Linked DNA regions of Homo sapiens: region 2 is linked to region 1. The links are contacts of gene promoters, found by promoter capture Hi-C in human tissues and cell types (Jung and others, 2019). All regions are on one chromosome and are shown on one strand. The core of a region is centred on a gene start or on the middle of the fragment in contact, and the rest is flanking DNA. Distances in the headings are between cores, read along the strand shown.

Region 1 (7,612 bases), core at 820-3,319:
TGCATAGGCCAGTTACTCAATCTTTGTGTGCCTCCATTTCCTCAGCTGTAAAGTGGGGGTAGTAGTATCTACCTTACAGGATTTTCATGAAGATTTATAAAGCAAATATTTACAAAGAGATTAGAATAGTGCTTGCCACATAGTAAATGCTATCCAAGTGTTTGTTAAATAAAAAATAAGCACCATAGATCACGTTTACCATCATTACTAATTTTTGATAAAGACAAAATTTTAAGTTGGAAATCCAAAGAAAACGTTTAAATAGAAGTCTAAGTTTTGGGCCGGGCTAGGTGGCTCACGCCTGTAATCCCAGCCCTTTGGGAGGCCGAGGTAGGCGGATCACGAGGTCAGGAGATTGAGAGCATGCTGGTTAACACGGTGAAACCCCATCTCTACTAAAAAAAAAAATACAAAAAATTAGCCGGGCGTGGTGGGGGGCGCCTGTAGTCCCAGCTACTCGGGAGGCTGAGGCAGGAGAATGGCGTGAACCCAGGAGGCGGAGCTTGCAGTGAGCCGAGATCGCGCCACTGCACTCCAGCCTGGGCGACAGAGCGAGACTCCGTCTCAAAAAAAACCAAACCAAGCCAAACAAACAAACAAGCAAACAAAAAGAAGTCTAAGTTTTAAGGCTTGTTATGGAAAATTGGCATAAATCTCCCTCGCTTTCAACTTTCACCTATTCCACTCTCCGTGGTGTTCCTTCTCTGCAAAGTCATCCATATGTATTATAAAAGTGGGTGCCTTGGACTGGTATGTTGACTAATTTGTTCTTAGCTCTTCTCTCATCCGCCTAAGAACAAGAAAAACAAGATTGAGGCCTCTGCTATGAAACTCTTAGGTAATAAAATTAATAGCACTGTTCATGCCTACTTAGAACAAAGGCTACCTGAGTACATGAGAATATTTTCCTCAGTGTTAAAATGCCAGAGCACAAAGGCACCCCAGTTCTCCCTGGTGAGGGTTTGAGCCCGAATTGTTCACTACCCCACCCCTCACCTTTTTTTTTCTTGAGACAGGGTCTCACTCTGTTGCCTGGACTAGAGTGCAGTGGTTCGATCATGTCTCACTGTAGCCTCCACCTCCTGGGCTCAAGTCATCCGTCCTCCCACCTCAGCCTCCTGAGTAGCTGAGACTACAGGAGTACACCACCACATCTGGCTAATTTTTGTAGAGACAGGGTTTCACCATGATGCCCAGGCTAGTCTCGAACTTGTGGACTCAAGAGAGCCACTCGCCTCAACCTCCCAAAGTGCTGTGATTACAGGGGTGAGCCACCCGCCAGCCCTGCCCACTCCTTGTTTTGTAAATACCTGCTATCAGGTCTTCCAACCTTGGTTTGGTTACTTAACCTCACTCTTTGCCTCTAATCCCTCATCTGTAAACTGAGCGTTAATAGACTGCTGTGAGATTTAATTAATACATAATGTGCCTGCATATGTATGGTATAACAAGGATATCATAAACATTAGTTATTAATAATTCGTGGAAATAAGTCTTTCCAGTTTTGGCATTGCTTTTCCCTTAAAGGTTTATTTCAAATACCCCTATGACCCAGAAAATGGGGCAGGGTAGGGGGAGTTGCCTGCTGGAGACAGAACGGAGAGTGGATGGATATAGCGGGCGTGGACGGACAGCGACAGAAGCTGATAACAGCACAGAAGGGCAAAGTCTGCTCAGCAGCCCCCAAAATAAACTTGAGCCTGGCAATCGGCGCAGAACCCCAGCAGTCAGCAGCTTCGGTGCAAAGCAACTAACACCTGAAGGCTTCCAAAAGCAGCAGGGCTCTCTCTAGCGGGGGAGCCTTTTCGACCAGAGAGGAGCCAGAAGGGGGCCTCAGTGCAGCCTCCACTCCACTCAATTCCCGGAGTTACCTTGGCGGGCTCCACGCTCCGAGAGACGCTGTTGCTCTATGAGGCGTGTCTGTGTTTCTCTAGTTCGCGGCTCCAGCAGTCGCGCCAAGGGGCAGCTGCTACTCCTGCCAGATACACCAGTTATCACAGGCCGCTCCCAGGCCTGCGGGGGCCCTGAGAATTCGCAACAAGCCCCGGGCAGCAGGGCTCGGCTGGCGCTGAGGCCCCGCCTGGCCATGCCCATTGGCGGAGGCTGCCCCGGGGGCGGGGTCAGGGCGCCCCATTCCCAGACCCCGCAGCCCCGCCCGCCGCGGGTGCGTGTGGAGAGGCCCAGGTGAGGAGCAAGCGCCCGCGTTCCGGAAGCCCGCTCCCGGGGCCATGGGGGCACAGGTGAGGCTGCCGCCCGGAGAGCCCTGCCGAGAAGGTTTGTGTCTGCCCTGAGCCGAGGGACCTGGCAGCTGGGTGGCGAAGAGACCGGGTGGGCGGTCCCCGGACACTTGCGGAGACTGGAAAGGGGGGCTGTACCGACTCTAAACGTAGTCGTTCACTCATTCATTCATTCAGTCAGTCGGCCGTCCAGCCAGGCGTTCAACACTTATTTATGGGTGCCTAGGCGATTCGGGCTGTGCTGGAAAACCTGAGTGGAATAAGGCAGGTGGGACTCCCACTCGATTCGCGAGGCCGACCAGTGTAAATTACCGCGTGCTGCGTGTGGGACGGGGAAACTCAGGATGCTATGGGAAGAATCCCGAGTCCCTCTGAGAAGGACGTTTCCTCTGACTCAGGCTCCCTTCCAGAGTCTGCGGCCGACGTCACCCGGTGGGCAGAGGGCGTGTCTGCCTGGGGGGCCCGTGGGAGTTCTGCGCTGCGCCCTGCGCTGGCTCCCGGGGATCGAGCACCGCGAGAGGTTGGGCGCCCGGGGCCGCGGGGGTGGGCGTTGGGCAAGTCTGGGCCGCCCACGTCTCTCCTCTTCCTTGGAAATGAAAAGGTCTCCAAACCCATGAGCCTGTCTGACTCGCTGTGCAGTCACTCTGGCTGCTTAAGGCGAGAGCCGTACTGGAGAGGAAACCTGGAACCGGGAGCACTCGTTTGCAGGCTCTTCTTACTGCTTCTCACCTGAGCCCCGTGAAATCTCTGGGCGAGGCTCCTTGCCCTTCGCCAAGTGTTCGCAACACTGGCGGGTTTTCTGCAGTCTCCATACAGAAGGCCCCGATAAAAGTAGGGAAGGGGGTAGGGGGAGCGACTGGAAGGATGTAGATACATTGAAATGATGGTTTTCGCCGTACCAAGGGGAAAGCAGCTTTTTAATTTACCTGATAATGCAGTAAAGGGGAAGGGAGGCAGTGAAAGGCATGGTAAGAACTACTATATATATACACATATATATATAGTTCCCTTACACATATATATATATATATATGTATATACATATACACCTTTGCAAAGGTGCTCGCAACTTCCCTAGTTTCCTCTCCTCTTGACTCTTCCAGCTTATTCCTTTTTAACAAGTGAGCTCGTCCAAACCATGCTAGCAAGGAAGAGAAGGGACACCAAAAAAAGGAGAAAAATGCCTGAACAATTCACAAGCTATTAAAAAAAATTTTTTAAGGCCGCTGGATCTAGAATTATTTTCTAGTCTTTTTTTCTGAAAAAGAGCAATAACGCCTGAACAACTCACAAACTATTAAAAAACAAAAATTTTAAGGCAGCTGAATCTAGAATTATTTCCTAGAGAGTCAGGTTGTGTGCCCTTTTTCTAAATAATTTCTAACCCAGCAAATCTGACAGTTACTAACACACCCACACTTGTTTACCCAAGGATCTGTAAGTAAGGAAGGTATATGAATTACACCCACTTGTTTGAGCTTCTGGATGTTTTTCCTGCTTTGCTTATGCATTGAGTTCCAACAAGAAACATTTAAGCTCCAGGCTTAATACCTGTGATTAACCATGGTAATTAATTGTGTGAAAAGCTGGTGAGAAAGACTTAGAAATCTGAATGCACGTTATTAGTAGTGGGAAGAGATTAGGCTTTGGCATCAGACAGTCTGAGCTGTAACTTAGCTTCCTTGAGCATTTTCCTGTCTATAAATTGGGGGTCATCCCTCCAGTTTACAGTTCTGAAGAGTAGGTGCAGGTGGGATTACATATGAACTACACCACTCAGAGCTTGACATGGAGTAAACAAAGACTCAATTTTTCACTTGTTCATTCAAATAACAAGAGTCCCATGTGCCAAGCACTGGCATAGGTGCTGGGATAGAGGGATCTGCAAGACAGTCTGGTCCCAGACTCTAGGACTAGGTTCCTGCTCTCAGGCACCTTACTGTTCAGATGGCAGCTACTATGCAAGAAACAAAGTAATTTAAAAGATCATTATAATAGCAGTAATGTATCAAGAGTGTTGGGATGTTTAGATTGGGTATTCAATGAAAGCCCCTTACGAAAGTGATATTCAAGCTGAGACCCAAATGACAAGGGGTCAGTCATGAGATCTGAAGATAGAACATTCCAGTTGAACTTCCATGAAGAAAAAGTTAATTTCATACTTTGGTTTTGACTTTTTTTTGTTTTTTTGAGGCGGAGTGCCACTCCGTCACCCAGGATGGCATGCAGTGGTGCAATTTCAGCTCACTGCAACTTCCACCTGGGTTCAAGCAATTCTCCTGCCTCAGCCTCTCAAGTAGCTGGGAATACAGGCACATGCCACCATGCCCAGCTAATTTTTGTATTTTTAATACGGGTTTCACTGTGTTGACCAGGCTGGTCTTGAACTCCTGACTTCAAGTGATACTCCTACCTTGGCATCCCAAAGTGCTGGGTTTACAGGCATGAGCCATCCCCCACCCCACATTGGTTTTGACTTTTAAAGCTATAGATGCTTCAAAAGAGTCTCTAATCCAAAATTATCTTTAAAAGAAACAAATGCAAATATGTATGAAGGTTGTTATAAAGCTGTAATTAAGCCATATGAGGAAGTCTATTTGATTGGGAACATATGATGGAAAGTGACTGAGAGGTTCCTTTAGATTGGGAAGGCAGGAAAGGCCTCTCTGAGTTGCTTAGTCCTCTCACTCAGAAGAAGCTAGCTATGCCAGCCAGCACTCTGTAACAGGCTCAGGAACAGCTGCTTTTTAAAAAGCTTAAGGTGAGAAGGAACTTATTCTATGAAAGGAACAGAAGAAAAGGCAATAGTAGGGAATGAGGTTAGGCAGCTGGAGACAGGATTCCACAGGGCCTTATAGGCTATAGTGGGAATTTTGGATTTTTTTCGGAATGAGAAGGGAAGCCCTTGTGGAGTTTTGGAAGGAGGAATGACAAGATCAGACCTACTTGTCTAAAGGTTCATTTCACCTGATCCTTCTCCCACCTACTCTTTAGCCACATCTCATACCATCTCCCTTTCTGTCACCCCAGGCAACCTGGCTGACTGCAGTTTCTTCAACCCCTCAGGGTTTCTGCTTTTAGACTTAGCAGAGAGGCTCTTTTGTTTAATCCTGTTTTAAAAAATATATTCCTTGATGCTGCTTTTACTACTTGCTATGGCACTCTTAACATACGTATAGTTATTTGTTTGTTAATCCTATCTGCCCCCACTGGAATATAAGAGAGCGGGACCATTGTTGTATTCATTTTTCTATCTCCAGATTCTAGAAAATGCCCAACAGGTAGTACACCATACATATTTGTTGAATGAAGGAAAAGAAGATTAGTGTTTCAGAGAGGGGTGAGAGGGAGAGTAATGCAATATGATGTCAGAGACGAGCCAGTTTCAGAGCATGAGAAGCTTTAAAGTTCAAAGTTAGTGAGGAGTTGAGATTTTGTTGTAAGTTGAGATGAAAAACCATGACAGGGGACAGGGAGTATTAAGCCAGGGAGTGATATAACCTACTTCCCACTGGTTAGCGTTTGGAGAATAAATTGTAACAGATATAAAGAGATTTCATTCAGTCATTCCCATGCTAATATGAATAGGCAGGTATATCACATATTCTTGCTTAGGTTTCTAGGTCAGCTGAAGGTTGACTGATCTAGATGGGGCTCACCTATATGTCTCTGCTTCAGGCTAATGTCCACCTGGGTTTGGCTCCTTCATGTGGGATGAGCTCAGATCTGCTCCATGTGTCTTCATTTGGGTGCAGAGGCTGAAGGGACAGCAGCTCCTCAGGGAATTACAGAGATGCAAATGAGTAAACCCAACCACATAAGCATCTTTGAAATCTAGCTTCATATCACTTCTGCTGACTTCCCATTGGCCACCAACTTACTTCCAGCCCAACATCAGGTGAAGCACCTTTGCCCACATTGGGAAAGGTAAGGGGCTGAATACTGAATGAATAATAATCCAAACTATCACAGTAGAATAGATGGTGAGACCCCCAACTGGAAATATCTTGCGGTGATTAAAAAGGTAGTTTTATACAATTATTGACTTTCTTAAAACCAGATTTCTATTCCATGTAATAAACTGGATAATTTAAATTATTATTTAAATTTATATTATTATTCTCTATAGGCAAATATTTGACAAATTATTTAAAGCATTTCATCCTTATATAAACATGAATAATAAATTTCAACTGGCTTTTTCTTGTACTTTATGTTTTTATTTTTCTGAAATAGAATGCTGGCTGGGAATTGGGTTACTTGGCCCTGGTTTTAGCAGTTACATAACTTTGGCCAGTGTCACTTAATATATTGGCATCAGTTTCTTTAAAATATCTCTCCTCTATCAGTGCCTATGAGTTTAGAACTGGTCCATCAGCAACATTTATGAGGCACCAGTATTGTAAGTAATTCTGAGAACAAACATAGGTTATGATCAAACTTTAGAATCATTGAGTCAAAGTCCCTCATTTTACAGATGCGGAAACTGAAACCAAGAGCCATTACTCAACTTGCCCATGATTATAGATAGTAGATCTTCATTTTTAAATGTTAAAGGTGTGTGTATGTAAACTATTACACCTGTACATAGAAGATAAATATTAGGTTGAAACATATGAAACTACTTGTCATAGGGTTCAAATTGTTCAGTTATCATCAATTTCATATAGTTCAACATAATATAAGAACATTAGAAGTACTGTTTGTGGGACCTGTAAATTACTTAAATATCAATCAACTATAAAACAGAAAAATTAGTTGTGTGATAGTTATACAGTGGAATTCTCTAGAACAGTGGGGAAAAAACAAATCCTGCAGCCTCATGCATCATGTTTTGATGAATCTCAAAAACAAGTCACCTAAGAACAAATTCTTTATCATTACACTTTCATAGGTGCAAAAAGAGGCAAAAGCATTTTCAAGATATATGGAGAAAATCTTTTTTATAAGCAAAAGAATGTTAAAGAGAAAATCAGGATAGTTACTAACTCTGAGGGGTGATGCTTTATTTCTTAAACTGGCTGGTTGATACATTGGTGTGTATATATATATATATTTATAATATATATTTCCTAAATATTCATTATTCTCTATTTAGAAAAATAACATCAAAGAAGAAGTACATGTTCGTGGCTAGCAAGAGTGTACTTTGGTACAGTCACTTTAGAGGACTATTGATAGTGTCTGTTAAAAATGAAGCATAATGAATGGAGTAGATGTTCTCTTTCTGTGGAATAAAGTCTGGATTAAACTCCCTGGAAAATTACTGTGCTTACTTAAATCTTGATAAGCCAATTGTGACTTGAGATGTCTTTGATTCCTTTAAAACACTCCAAATTCCCTGCCCACACACCATCCATTACCCATCTCTTCCC
Region 2 (7,505 bases), core at 785-3,284, 41 kb after region 1:
AAGTCTCTTTGTAGGTCACTCAGGACTTGCTTTATGAATCTGGGTGCTCCTGTATTGGGTGCATAAATATTTAGGATAGTTAGCTCCTCTTGTTGAATTGATCCCTTTACCATTATGTAATGGCCTTCTTTGTCTCTTTTGATCTTTGTTGGTTTAAAGTCTGTTTTATCAGAGACTAGGATTGCAACCCCTGCCTTTTTTTGTTTTCCATTGGCTTGGTAAATCTTCCTCCATCCTTTTATTTTGAGCCTATGTGTGTCTCTGCACGTGAGATGGGTTTCCTGAATACAGCACACTGATGGGTCTTGACTCTTTATCCAACTTGCCAGTCTGTGTCTTTTAATTGCAGAATTTAGTCCATTTATATTTAAAGTTAATATTGTTATGTGTGAATTTGATCCTGTCATTATGATGTTAGCTGGTGATTTTGCTTGTTAGTTGATGCAGTTTCTTCCTAGTCTCGATGGTCTTTACATTTTGGCATGATTTTGCAGCGGCTGGTACCGGTTGTTCCTTTCCATGTTTAGCGCTTCCTTCAGGAGCTCTTTTAGGGCAGGCCTGGTGGTGACAAAATCTCTCAGCATTTGCTTGTCTATAAAGTATTTTATTTCTCCTTCACTTATGAAGCTTAGTTTGGCTGGATATGAAATTCTGGGTTGAAAATTCTTTTCTTTAAGAATGTTGAATATTGGCCCCCACTCTCTTCTGGCTTGTAGGGTTTCTGCCGAGAGATCCGCTGTTAGTCTGATGGGCTTTCCTTTGAGGGTAACCCGATCTTTCTCTCTGGCTGCCCTTAACATTTTTTCCTTCATTTCAACTTTGTTGAATCTGACAATTATGTGTCTTGGAGTTGCTCTTCTCGAGGAGTATCTTTGTGGCGTTCTCTGTATTTCCTGAATCTGAACGTTGGCCTGCCTTGCTAGATTGGGGAAGTTCTCCTGGATAATATCCTGCAGAGTGTTTTCCAACTTGGTTCCCTTCTCCACATCACTTTCAGGTACACCAATCAGACGTAGATTTGGTCTTTTCACATAGTCCCATATTTCTTGGAGGCTTTGCTCATTTCTTTTTATTCTTTTTTCTCTAAACTTCCCTTCTCGCTTCATTTCATTCATTTCATCTTCCATTGCTGATACCCTTTCTTCCAGTTGATCGCATCGGCTCCTGAGGCTTCTGCATTCTTCACGTGGTTCTCGAGCCTTGGGTTTTCAGCTCCATCAGCTCCTTTAAGCACTTCTCTGTATTGGTTATTCTAGTTATACATTCTTCTAAATTTTTTCAAAGTTTTCAACTTCTTTGCCTTTGGTTTGAATGTCCTTCCATAGCTCAGAGTAATTTGATCGTCTGAAGCCTTCTTCTCTCAGCTCGTCAAAATCATTCTCCATCCAGCTTTGTTCCATTGCTGGTGAGGAACTGCGTTCCTTTGGAGGAGGAGAGGTGCTCTGCGTTTTAGAGTTTCCAGTTTTTCTGTTCTGTTTTTTCCCCATCTTTGTGGTTTTATCTACTTTTGGTCTTTGATGATGGTGATGTACAGATGGGTTTTCGGTGTAGATGTCCTTTCTGGTTGTTAGTTTTCCTTCTAACAGACAGGACCCTCAGCTGCAGGTCTGTTGGAATACCCTGCCGTGTGAGGTGTCAGTGTGCCCCTGCTGGGGGGTGCCTCCCAGTTAGGCTGCTCGGGGGTCAGGGGTCAGGGACCCACTTGAGGAGGCAGTCTGCCCGTTCTCAGATCTCCAGCTGCGTGCTGGGAGAACCACTGCTCTCTTCAAAGCTGTCAGACAGGGACACTTAAGTCTGCAGAGGTTACTGCTGTCTTTTTGTTTGTCTGTGCCCTGCCCCCAGAGGTGGAGCCTACAGAGGCAGGCAGGCCTCCTTGAGCTGTGGTGGGCTCCACCCAGTTCGAGCTTCCCAGCTGCTTTGTTTACCTAAGCAAGCCTGGGCAATGGTGGGCGCCCCTCCCCCAGCCTCGTTGCCGCCTTGCAGTTTGATCTCAGACTGCTGTGCTAGCAATCAGTGAGATTCCGTGGGCGTAGGACCCTCTGAGCCAGGTGTGGGATATAGTCTCGTGGTGCGCCGTTTTTTAAGCCGGTCTGAAAAGCGCAATATTCGGGTGGGAGTGACCCGATTTTCCAGGTGCGTCTGTCACCCCTTTCTTTGACTCGGAAAGGGAACTCCCTGACCCCTTGCGCTTCCCAGGTGAGGCAATGCCTTGCCCTGCTTCGGCTCGCGCACGGTGCACGCACACACTGGCCTGCGCCCACTGTCTGGCACTCCCTAGTGAGATGAACCCGGTACCTCAGATGGAAATGCAGAAATCACCCGTCTTCTGCGTCGCTCACGCTGGGAGCTGTAGACCGGAGCTGTTCCTATTCGGCCATCTTGGCTCCTCCCTGGAATAATGTTTTTAAATGCATAAAATAGAATTACATAGAACTAAATAGGAAACCAATTATATTGACATAAAGTTATCAAAATATTTAAAAAACAAATGTGTTTTCATAATATGTCTTTTTTATTGTGTTAAATGACAAGATCTAGTGACAGTTCTAAAAACTATCGCAACTTTGAAGTAGTGATGAATGTAAATTGAGAAAGTTGAAAAATCTCCCATGATATGAAAATAATAGTTTTTCATATTTTGACAGTCACAGAAACTGCTTATAGAAAGTACTAGAGTTTTGTTTTTTCCCATAATTCTAAATGTAAATTCACATTTAGAATTCTAAATATGAATTCACATTTAGAATTATGGGAAATGCTAAAGCTTAGAGATTAATAAAAATAAAGATGTAATTTTTTCTCCATCCAAGTCCATGGACCTCCTTAAACCCAGGGCAAGATCCTTTGGTAATGAAATCAGTGGTTCTCATCCCCCAGGGGACATTTGGCAATGTTCTAGAGACATTTTTGGTTGTTTCTCCTGGGGGAGGGGTATTGGCATCTAATGGGTAAAGGCCAAAGATGCTACTAAATATCCTCCAACACACAGCACGTCCTCCTACAACAAACAATTATCCAGCCCAAAATGTGAACTGTGCTGAGATCCAAGAACACTTGGATCTGGAGAAACTAGAGTCTGAATGAAGAAGATTCTCCAAAGAGAGCTGAGAAACTGACCTTGCACATACCACACACCCTGTCGTTAGGAAACCTGAAAAGCATATTGCCCCTACTTGCACCCTCAGTGTTGCTAGTGTCTACAAGTTGTTCCCATGGTAACACAATTCAAGGCAGACACAGGAAAGAGCACAAGTACAATATGGGTAAAGGAACTGCGTATGTTTTTAAGAGAAAAGCAACTCACTGATAAAAAGACATTTCATTTGGTTTTGAAAGTTTGGAAGTTCATCAAAAAGTAAGTAATAAAGCCTCTCCTTCCCCACTCTCATGCCAGGAAAAAAAGGCAGGATTGTGATTCACAAGGTTTGTGCTTCTTATAACACCTAAGTTCCCCAGAATGAAAATAGTGTTTGAGACTTAGATCCAGTGAAGACAATCTGGATATCATTTTGTGACATCCAGAGTGGGTTGAGGGTGGTGCTTAAAGATGAAACAGAAATGTGCTGATCTGGAGGCGAGAGGCTGGCTTTCCTGAGACTGGCAGCTAATATGAGGGATGGTAACAGATTCCCCTCTTGATCAAATTTTAGTTAACGTTTCTACGAGCCCTCTTCTTATCTAGGCCTTATCTTAGGTCCATCCTTGGCCTGGCTTTAGCAAGAATCCTGCTAACTCAGTTTAGCAAGAAGTCCCCAGCCCTTGTTATCTGATCAAATTCCTCATCCTTGATATCTTAATATCTTAGTCCTTGACCTGCCTTTAGTTAGAATCTTGTTAAGCCAGTTTAGCAAAAATCCCTCTACTATTTCATATCTACTGTCCCCAGCTGTCTTTGCTGTAGTCAGAGCTGAGTTCAGTCTCTCTCTACTATTTGAAATACTCTCAAATAAAGTCTCCCATATCATTTTAACAAGTGTCAAAATAATTTTGTTTCAAGAGTCAAGGCCCAAGCTCCACAGCACCGAGAATGGGAAAGTGGTCCCGGAATGTGTGAGAGGCTGAGCACTAAGGGATATGGCTTTCTAGAGAGCAGTGGCTAGGACCTGGGGACTGAGCCCATGATCAGCAGGGAGGACTCCTGTGAGGGGGATCTCTATGCCCGACAGAAGCAGAGGACCAGCAGCAGCTCATCCTGAAAGGGAAAGAACAATAGAACTCACGGGGCACTATGAAGAAACTGCACCAACTAATGGGCAAAATAACCAGCTAGCATCAAAAGGACAGGATCAAATTCATAAAAAACAATATTAACCTTAAATGTAAACAGGCTAAACGCCCCAATTAAAAGGCACAGAGTGGAAAACTGGATAAAGAGTCAAGACCCATGGTGTGCTATATTCAGGAGACCCATCTCATGTGCAAAGACACATATAGGCTCAAAATAAAGGGATGGAGGAAGGATGGAGGAAGATTTACCAAGCAAATGGAAAGCAAAAAAAGCAGGGGTTGTAATCCTAGTCTCTGATAAAACAGACTTTAAACCAACAAAGATCAAAAAAGACAAAGAAGGGCATTACATAATGGTAAAGGGATCAATGCAATAAGAAGAGCTAACTTCTCGGTGATTATACATATATATATACACATACATACATACATATATATATATAATATATATCCTAAATATATATGCACCCAATACAGGAGCACCCAGATTCATAAAGCAAGTTCTTAGAGACCTACAAAGAGACCTACACTCCCACACAATAACAGTGGGAGACTTTAACACCCCACTGCCAACATTAGACAGATCAATGAGACAGAAAATTAACAAGGATATTCAGAACTTGAACTCAGCTCTGGACCAAGTGGACCTAATAGACATCTACAGAACTCTCCACCCCAAATCAACAGAATATACACTCTTCTCAGCATCACATCACACCTATTCCAAAATTGACCACATAATTGGAAGTAAAACACTCCTCAGCAAATGCAGAAGAACAGAAATCACAACAAACTGTCTCTCAGACCACAGTGCAATCAAATTAGAACTCAGGATTAAGAAACTCACTCAAAACTGCACAACTACATGGAAACTGAACAACCTGCTCCTGAAAGACTACTGGGTAAATAGCAAAATTAAGGCAGAAATAAATAAGTTCTTTGAAACCAATGAGAACAAAGACACAATATACCAGAATCTCCGGGACGCAGCTAAAGCAGTGTTTAGAGGGAAATTTATAGCACTAAATGCCCACAGAAGAAAGTGGGAAAGTTCTAAAATTGACACCCTAACATCACAATTAAAAGAACTACAGAAGCAACAGCAAACAAATTCAAAAGGTAGCAGAAAACAAGAAATAACTAAGATCAGAGCAGAACTGAAGGAGATAGAGACATGAAAAACCCTTCAAAAAAATCAGTGAACTCAGGAGCTGTTTTTTTTGAAAAGATTAACAAAATAGATGGACCACTAATAAAGAAGAGAGAAGAATCAAACAGACACAATAAAAAAATGATAAAGCAGATATCACCACTGATGCCACAGAAATACAAACCACCATCAGAGAATAAATACTACAAACACCACTATGCAAATAAACTAGAAAATCTAGAAGAAATGGATGAATTCCTGGACACATACACCCTCCCAAGACTAAACCAGGAAGAAGTAGAATCTCTGAATAGACTAATAACAAGTTCTGAAATTGAGGCAGTAATTAATAGCCTACCAACCAAAAAAAGCCCAGGACCAGACAGATTCACAGCCAAATTCTACCACAGGTACAAAGAGCAGCTGGTACCATTCCTTCCAAAACGATTCCAAATAATAGAAAAAGAGGGACTCCCCACTAACTCATTTTATGAGGCCAGCATCATCCTGATACCAAAACCTGGCACAGACACAACAAAAAAAAGAAAATTTCAGGCCAATATCTCTGATGAACTTCGATGCGAAAATTCTCAATAAAATACTGGCTAACTGAATCCAGCAGCACATTAAAAAGCTTATCCACCACGACCAAGTCAGCTTCATCCCTGGGATGCAAGACTGGTTTAACACACACAAACCAATAAACTTAATCCATCACATAAACAGAACCAATGACGAAAACCACATAATTATCTCAATAGATGCAGAAAAGGCCTTCAACAAAATTCAACACCCCTTCATGATAAAAACACTCAATAAACTAAGTATTGATGGAATATATCTCAAAATATTAAGAGCTATTTATGACAAACCCACAGCCAGTATAATACTGAATGGGTAAAAGCTGGAAGCATTCCCTTTGAAAACCGGCACAAGACAAGGATGCCCTCTCTCACCACTCCTATTCAATATAGTAGTATTGGAAGTCCTGGCCAGGGCAATCAGGAAAGAGAAAGAAATAAAGGATATTCGAATAGGAAGAGAGGAAGTCAAATTACCTCTGTTTGCAGATGACATGATTGCATATTTAGAAAACCCCATCATCCTAGCCCAAAAACTCCTTAAGCTGATAAGCAACTTTAGCAAAGTCTCAGAATACGAAATCAATGTGCAAAAATCACAAGCATTCCTACACACCAATAAAAGAGAGCCAAATCGTGAGCTAACTCCCATTCACAATTGCTATAAAGAGAATAAAATACCTAGGAATAGAAGTTACAAGGGATGTGAAGGACCCTTTCAAGGAGAACTACAAACCACTGCTCAAGGAAGTAAGAAAGGACACAAACAAATGGAAAAACATTCCACACTCATGGATAGGAAGAATCAATATCGTGAAAATGACCATACCACCCAAAGTAATTTATAGATTCAATGCTATTCCCATCAAGACACCATTTACTTCCTTCACAGAATTAGAAAAAACTAATTTAAATTTCACATGGAATCAAAAAAGCACCCATATAGCCAAGACAATTTAAAGCAAAAAGAACAAAGCTGGAGGCATCACACTACCTGACTTCAAACTATACTACAAGGCTACAGTATCCAAAACAGCATGGTACTGGTACCAAAACAGATATATAGACCAATGGAACACAATAGAGGCCTCAGAAATAACACCACACATCTACAACCATCTGACCTTTGACAAACCTGACAAAAACAAGCAATGGGGAAAGGATTCCCTATTTAATAAATGGTGCTGGGAAAACTGACTAGCCATATGCAGAAAACTGAAACTGGACCCCTTCCTTACACCTTATACAAAAATTAACTCAAGATGGATTAAAGATTTAAATGTAAGGTCTAAAACCATAAAAATCCTAGAAGAAAATCTAGACAGTATTATTCAGGACACAGGCATGAGCAAAGACTTCATAACTAAAACACCAAAAGCAATGACAACAAAAGCCAAAATTGACAAATGGTATCTAATTAAACTAAAGAGCTTCTGCACAGCAAAAGAAACTATCATCAGAGTGAACAGGCAACCTACAGAATGGGAGAATATTTTTGCCATCTATCCATGTGACGGCTAATATCCAGAATCTACAAGAAATGTAAA

The links. The method cuts DNA at HindIII sites, captures the fragments that hold promoters and counts their contacts. A contact is called where the count stands out against the background at its distance.
Region 2: a contact is called between a fragment that was not itself captured here and the fragment with the promoter of CNGA1 in region 1, in 1 of the 25 tissues and cell types used here (lymphoblastoid cells).

Annotation. Positions count from the first base shown.
Region 1 is chr4:48,014,612-48,022,223 of GRCh38, forward strand. It overlaps CNGA1 (cyclic nucleotide gated channel subunit alpha 1), which reads right to left and starts at 2,070. Exons shown (of 11, transcript NM_001379270.1): 1 at 1,872-2,070. NIPAL1 (NIPA like domain containing 1) reads left to right here and starts at 2,161. Exons shown (of 6, transcript NM_207330.3): 1 at 2,161-2,274. The coding sequence starts at 2,229. RefSeq lists an enhancer at 1,751-2,252 and silencers at 2,017-2,346, 2,637-2,796. The HindIII fragment of the contact is 8,867 bases long and covers 1-5,314 here.
Region 2 is chr4:48,055,594-48,063,098 of GRCh38, forward strand. No RefSeq gene overlaps it. Among named protein-coding and RNA genes, the nearest start is that of NIPAL1, 43 kb to the left of the region's middle. The HindIII fragment of the contact is 4,706 bases long and covers 1-4,387 here.